2 separate regions of the Homo sapiens genome follow, and region 1 is linked to region 2. The links are contacts of gene promoters, found by promoter capture Hi-C in blood cells and fetal thymus (Javierre and others, 2016). All regions are on one chromosome and are shown on one strand. The core of a region is centred on a gene start or on the middle of the fragment in contact, and the rest is flanking DNA. Distances in the headings are between cores, read along the strand shown. Region 1 overlaps CARMIL3 (capping protein regulator and myosin 1 linker 3). Region 2 holds the start of NYNRIN (NYN domain and retroviral integrase containing).

Region 1 (2,817 bases), core at 247-2,746, 330 kb after region 2:
CTCTTTCCAGCCCTTACGCCCTAGCCTGGTGGTGGGAGTGAAAGAGGCTGAGGGGGTGTCTCCATCTACAGAGAGATTTTGTCTATGTCAATATTGCTGGAGGGTCATGGTCCAGGCCTTTGGCAACTGCTGGACTGAGCGAATGCTGAGCTGACCAGCTTTTCTTTAGTGGCTCCCTAAGCGGAAGGTGCTCTGAAGCCAGCAGAAAGGAAGTGTCATGCCTGGGATAATCCCCTCCCTTTTACTCCTCCGGTCATGGGGCCAGAAAGTAAATGACTTGTTTAAGGTCGCGGGTGGCTGAGAAGGACTAATACTGCAGGTTTCTGACCTCCGAGGCGAGCTCTTGCCCATGTTTGGGGCACCTTTCTGCGTGAGCTGAGGGTGAGTTGATAAACGACTTCTGGAGGAGGCTGGAATCTGAGGTGGGCCTGGCACAGCTGGTACTTGCTGGCAGTTTGACTTGCCCACCCTCTTCCCAGCAAGGTGCAGAGAGGAGCCTTGTCTACAGAGGCTGCCACTGTGCCAATGGTGACCAGAGGCTGCACCTGCCCTGGAGAATTCGCCAGAGCCATCCACAAAGCATCGCTCCTGTTTGCCAACACTGGAGAAGCCGCTTTTGTTCTGTAGAAGCTTTCTTTGGATTGGGTTGTTTGTCTCTTTTGGATATAGCTTTGTAAATATCCTTAAACATTTTCACTGTGTTGACTTCTCACTGCCCCACCTTGGCCATAAATTCCCCAGCACAGGGGCCATGGGCTTCTGTTTCTTTGGACACACCCTGGGCTTTCAGTACTGCTGCCTGAAAAGAGGCTTTCCATACCTATGTGCCATGTGGCCTCTGCTCTGCGCATGGCGCTGAAGCTTGGTTTGGTGCTTTGGGGCGGTGGTGGGGGCTTCCAGGATCCAGGCCCTGGAGTAGAGAGAGGGGATGAGAAAGAGAGGAGAAAGGGAAAAGGTAAATTTGACCCCTGAGAGAGGGGTCCAAAAGGGCTTTGAATGTGACTGTTCTTACCTGCGTCGTCTGAAGAGCGCCGTTTCTGCCAGGCCTGGGTGCTGCCCTCCTGGTCTGGGCCTGGGCCCTGAAAGAACAGTGGGTCAGGTTGTAAGAAAGTCTCCTCTGTGGCAGGACTGCAGCTGACAAAGGGCTTCTGCTCTAGCATCTCCATGTCATTCTCATGTCATTAGTCCCTAGACACTTAAAACTGTTTCCCAAAGAGTGGCACCCATACCTCCCCAGGGGCACAAGAAATGGCTTACACAAATGAGTATACTTCCATCTTTATAGTTACATATGTATTTTACATGTAGTAGAAAAAAACACGACTCATTCAAAAAGCCTGCGATTTTAAAGATAATGTCTAGGTCTAGCCTAAGTTAAAAAAAGGTGAGTTAATTTAAATAAAAATACTATGTAAGTAATAATTCAGGTAAAAATCAGTCGCAAAGGTTATAATCAAGTCACCATTGTTTGGGAAACAGAGCTCTAGAGGTAAGTATTTTTATAACCCCTCATTTTACAGTAAAGAAGGAGAGGTTTCAGGAGGTGAAGTGACCAGTCCAGGGCTCCACGGCAAGTGTGTGGTGGGGGCTGAAGAGCAGCTAACATCTTCTAATGCCAAAGCATCTGCTTTCTCTACTGAACCACCAGGGATGAGGGAGTGGGAAGGAGAGGGTGGTGGACAGATACCCTCAGGACCCACAGTTTGTTGTCCCAGGCTCCACTCACCTCTCGTTTCCCATCGAAGCTCCAACCCTTGGCTCTTTCCAACCCGGGAAGGGCAACACCGTGAACCCTTGGCTGCTGTGCTGTCCCAGGGGCTGGGCCCCCCTCCCCTGGCTCTGACCCCTCAGTGCCCTAGAACAAGGTCTCTTATTTATTAGCAGTTCCCAGTCGAAGGGGGCTCCCCAGGCTGTGAGGGAGTTGTCAGGAGGACCCCTGCCTCACTGAGTCCCTAGCCACGGGGAAGCCCTGCAGAGACCCTCTGAAGAGTCCTTCCAACGCCTGCATTCGCATATAGCACTCCCAGCATGCTCTTGGCCACTGGGTCTTAGTCCACTCTCAAGGAGAGGAGAATTGAAATGACCAATGTTCCCAAGAACCCTGGGTCCTAGCATTCTCCCATTAAGCTTGGGGTGGGGTAGGAGACTGGGTTAAGTGTGGGGCAGGAAAAGGGGAAGACACAGCACCCCCTGCCTCACTTACCATCTTCCGGCGGAAGGAAGGTCCCCGGCCCCCACCAAATCCAGGGAGGAGGCTGCTCTCCTCCTCTGGGCTCCAGCAGGGAGAGGAGTTATTGCCGAGGCTTGGGGGGTCTGGGCTAGGGGGGCTCTCCTGAGTCGGGGGAGGGGGTGGGGGTGGAGGGAGGAGGAGTCCAGTGGTAGGGGACCCCGGCCCCCTGTCCCCCTTGAAGCTCCGGGGCCGGCGAAAGTGAAACAGGCCCCGGCGCCTCTTCTTCTGGAGTGGAGGCAGCGGTGCCTCCGAGAGTCCTGGCCGCACGGTCCTCAGAGTCCGGGGGTAGCTGGGGAGAATCGGGGTAAGTTAGCAACAAATGCCAGATGCAAGCTCAATCCTGGGTCTGATAAACCTGCTTTCCTCTCATCTGGTCTCCCCTGCTGCACTGCAGCCCTTTCCACTTAGTTCTCAGGGAGATGATGCCCTTGCCTTTCCTGTCCCGTTGTAATCCTCCAGCAGCCTTTCCCGCAGACTGATGTTTCTTCCCAGGCACCTCCCCTGCAACTCCTCTCAGCTTCTCCAAGTGACCTGGCTCCTCCTGGACAGACCCTGGGCAGTCTGCAGGACAGTGACAGGGAACACTA
Region 2 (2,838 bases), core at 222-2,721:
GACCAATTAAGATATAGGTATAAACCCATCTGCAGTAGGTGTGCGTGGTGAAGGGGAAGGTGGTCTGGGGCAGAGGGAGGCTGTGGCATTCCTACAAAGAAGAAGTAAGATAAAGGAATCTAAGGGAAGAGGTAAACCTTGGGGGACAGTGGAATCTGACAGGCCCAAGGGGAGGAAAAGCTTGTGAGAGAAGCCAGGGAGATTGCAAGAGAGGCGCACTGTGATCTGGCCTGTCCAAGGTCCAGCCCCACATAGCAAGCCCTTTCATCTGAAAACCCATAGCCCTCCTCCCAGACTCCCACCCATCTCCAAGGGCTGGGAATCTGGGAAGAGGGCTGCACCCCACTCTGAACCCCTGCAAGAAGCTGAGTGGCATCAAGAGTGTGGGGCAGGGAGCCCAGAGCCCTGGGTTCTGGTCCAACCCCCACCACCTCACCTACCTGACTCTGAGCACTCAGCCAGGCCCCTTACCCTCTCTGGCCACCAGTACCTCATCTGTAAAATGCCAGTATCACTCTAGAAGCATCTCTAAAGGCCCCTCCAGTCCTAGTACTCAGAGGCTCCAAGGGGCAGCCCAGGATTTAAGGAGACTTAAAAGGAGACAGAAGGACCTGGGCCTTTCAGTCTTGGTGGAGAACAAAGAGGTGTGTTGCAGAGGCCACAGAAATACAGCGCCTTGAGTTGCTCCCCAGATGGAAAAGTGGGACTGCTGATGCTGGGGCCCTGGCCAGGGAAGTCTCATGGGGGACACACACCGAGGAGGTGCTCTCAGTGCACTTGAGGGACAGAGGTGACACGTAGGGAAGGGGTGGGGCAGGAAAGGAAGGAACCAGAGGGAAGAAGCGGGCATGGAAGGAGCGCAGGCTGATCTGGCGAGGCAGGAGGATGGCCCACTACCTGCCTGCCACACTGCCAAATCCAGGCGGGGGCAGGGTGGGTGGTGTCTCTGCGGACCACCATCTCCCCAGGGGAAGGGGAGAGAGTGATCTGGCTGGAAGAGATGGGTGGGGGTGGGGAGAAGCTGTTTACCTTGGCTTTGCCCATGTTCTCTCGGGGCCCCTCGAGCTGTAGCCAGAAGTAGGGGGTGTCCGGGCGGCTCTGGAAGGCGTTCAGCTTGACCCTAAAGATGCGCTGCACTTGCAGCCGCTGCCGCTGCACCCGAGGCTTCGATTTTGTCTGCACCATGAACCATTCCTGCGCCGGAGGATCGCCCCCAGACAGGAGCATGGCTGCCCCGCCCGCTCCTGGAACGAAGGAGACGATAGTGTCACCCGGGTCTCGGGGCGGCAGGCGCCCCAGCCCCCAGCCCCAGGCGCCTAAGCCACGCCCCCTCCTCCCCGCGGCGCGCCCCCCGCACGGCCTCCTTCCTCCAGGCGGCGGGACCCACCCCGCACGGCTCGGGCGCCCGCCCTCTGGAGCTTGGTCCCCTTCGACCGCTGCTACCGCGACGAGCTCTTCCTGCCCGGGGTTGTAGCTAGGGGTGGGACCGGTCGGGCTCCTGCCGCCCTTCCCTCCGCCCCCAGCCTTCCCCCTCCAGCACTCTGCCAGCCCCTCCTGGATCAACTCTGTCTCCGTCTGCTGGATAGCTTAAAGGGGCGCGGAGGAGAGGGCGGGGGAGCCGGCGGGGGGGAGGAGGGGGCGGGGAGGGTCCCGGAGGCCTCTGCCTTCCACCCAAGTTTTGGGCCCAGAGCCAGAATCCAGGGGTCAAAGTTAGTTTCCTTCCACGTTCCCCTCTTGCTAGTGGAAGGACGGGGAAGAGGAAGGAGGGGAGGATTGGTTTCCGGCACCCTTTTTTGAGATTTGGAACAAGGATCTCTCCCCTTTACCCCCACCTCCCCCCTACCCCCAACAGCCTCTCCCAGGCGTCCCAAGAGAACGGGGACCTCGGCCACTCCTTCCCTGGGAGGAAAGGGTTAAGGTAGAGTAGGGTGGGGAGCCCAGGGAGGCCGGGGCCTAAGGAAACTCTGGGCTGGAGACCAAGCAGGAAGGAAAGGGTAACAGCACTGACTCCCCACCCCCCACTGAAGTCTAGGGACAGCTTGGAGCTGGCGGGCAGCCCAGACCCTCCTGAAGCCCCCCAGGGCTGGAGGGGCGGGAGAGCTGCCAGAGTTTTCAGACTTGAGTTGTTTATGAAAGCCCTTTTTAGCACGTTTGAGTTATGCTGTGAGGGGAAGGAGATAGAGGGTCCGGGCAGTAATGTAACCTCCGAGGTCTCCTGCAACCCCTGACCAGTCAGCCAATTGGCATCAGTGGTCTGGGACTAACCCTGGGCTAGGGGACCACCTTCAACACCCAGGCTCTGCTCACATCCCCAGCACAAAGAACACCTTATACAGCCTTGGGCCTGAATAGAACCTGGCCCTGTGGAGGGCAGGGCCTATGTCTCGGCCTCAATGATCTTATTTTGCAGACTAAAACGAAGAGCCACAGTCTGATAGACACAAGTATACCTATGAGGTCAAAAGGCATCAGACTTTAAATTAGGCCTGCCCTGGAACATCTGGTCTGCAGGGTCGTTATGTGTTTGTGTGCAGGCAAGGGACCAGGAGCACCCCACTGCAAGGAAGGGGCCCAATTGGGGGCAGGGAGGGGCTCACGCTACTCCTGGTCTGGACTGGACTCAGCCCACCACACCCTACTTCATCCTGCACACCTGATTCTTCTCCCTAGATTGGAATCCAGAAAAGGAAAAAATGATCTGTGTTACTTCTGGCTCCAAAGCCTTCTGCTCCACCCTGCCTGGTCCTCCTGTCCTGCCCCTCTCTAGTACCTTGAAGCAGAAGGCCTTTGGGCTGAATCTCCATCTCAGGCCTTCTTTCCACCTCTGACTGCTCTCCT

What was found. Contacts are between HindIII fragments. The CHiCAGO score rates a contact against its expected background, and 5 or more counts as called.
Region 1: a contact is called between a fragment that was not itself captured here and the fragment with the promoter of NYNRIN in region 2, in 2 of 17 cell types (activated CD4 T cells and neutrophils). The highest score is 7.0, in activated CD4 T cells.

Annotation. Positions count from the first base shown.
Region 1 is chr14:24,064,660-24,067,476 of GRCh38, reverse strand. It overlaps CARMIL3 (capping protein regulator and myosin 1 linker 3), which reads right to left. Exons shown (of 40, transcript NM_138360.4): 33 at 2,204-2,519; 34 at 1,727-1,855; 35 at 1,013-1,079; 36 at 821-910. It overlaps LOC105370412 (a long non-coding RNA gene), which reads left to right. Exons shown (of 2, transcript XR_943619.2): 1 at 1-381; 2 at 480-693. Among named protein-coding and RNA genes, the nearest start is that of CPNE6, 5.5 kb to the left of the region's middle. The HindIII fragment of the contact is 1,266 bases long and covers 864-2,129 here.
Region 2 is chr14:24,397,636-24,400,473 of GRCh38, reverse strand. It overlaps NYNRIN (NYN domain and retroviral integrase containing), which reads right to left and starts at 1,471. Exons shown (of 9, transcript NM_025081.3): 1 at 1,388-1,471; 2 at 1,030-1,244. The coding sequence starts at 1,227. RefSeq lists a silencer at 1,328-1,417. The HindIII fragment of the contact is 6,271 bases long and covers 183-2,838 here.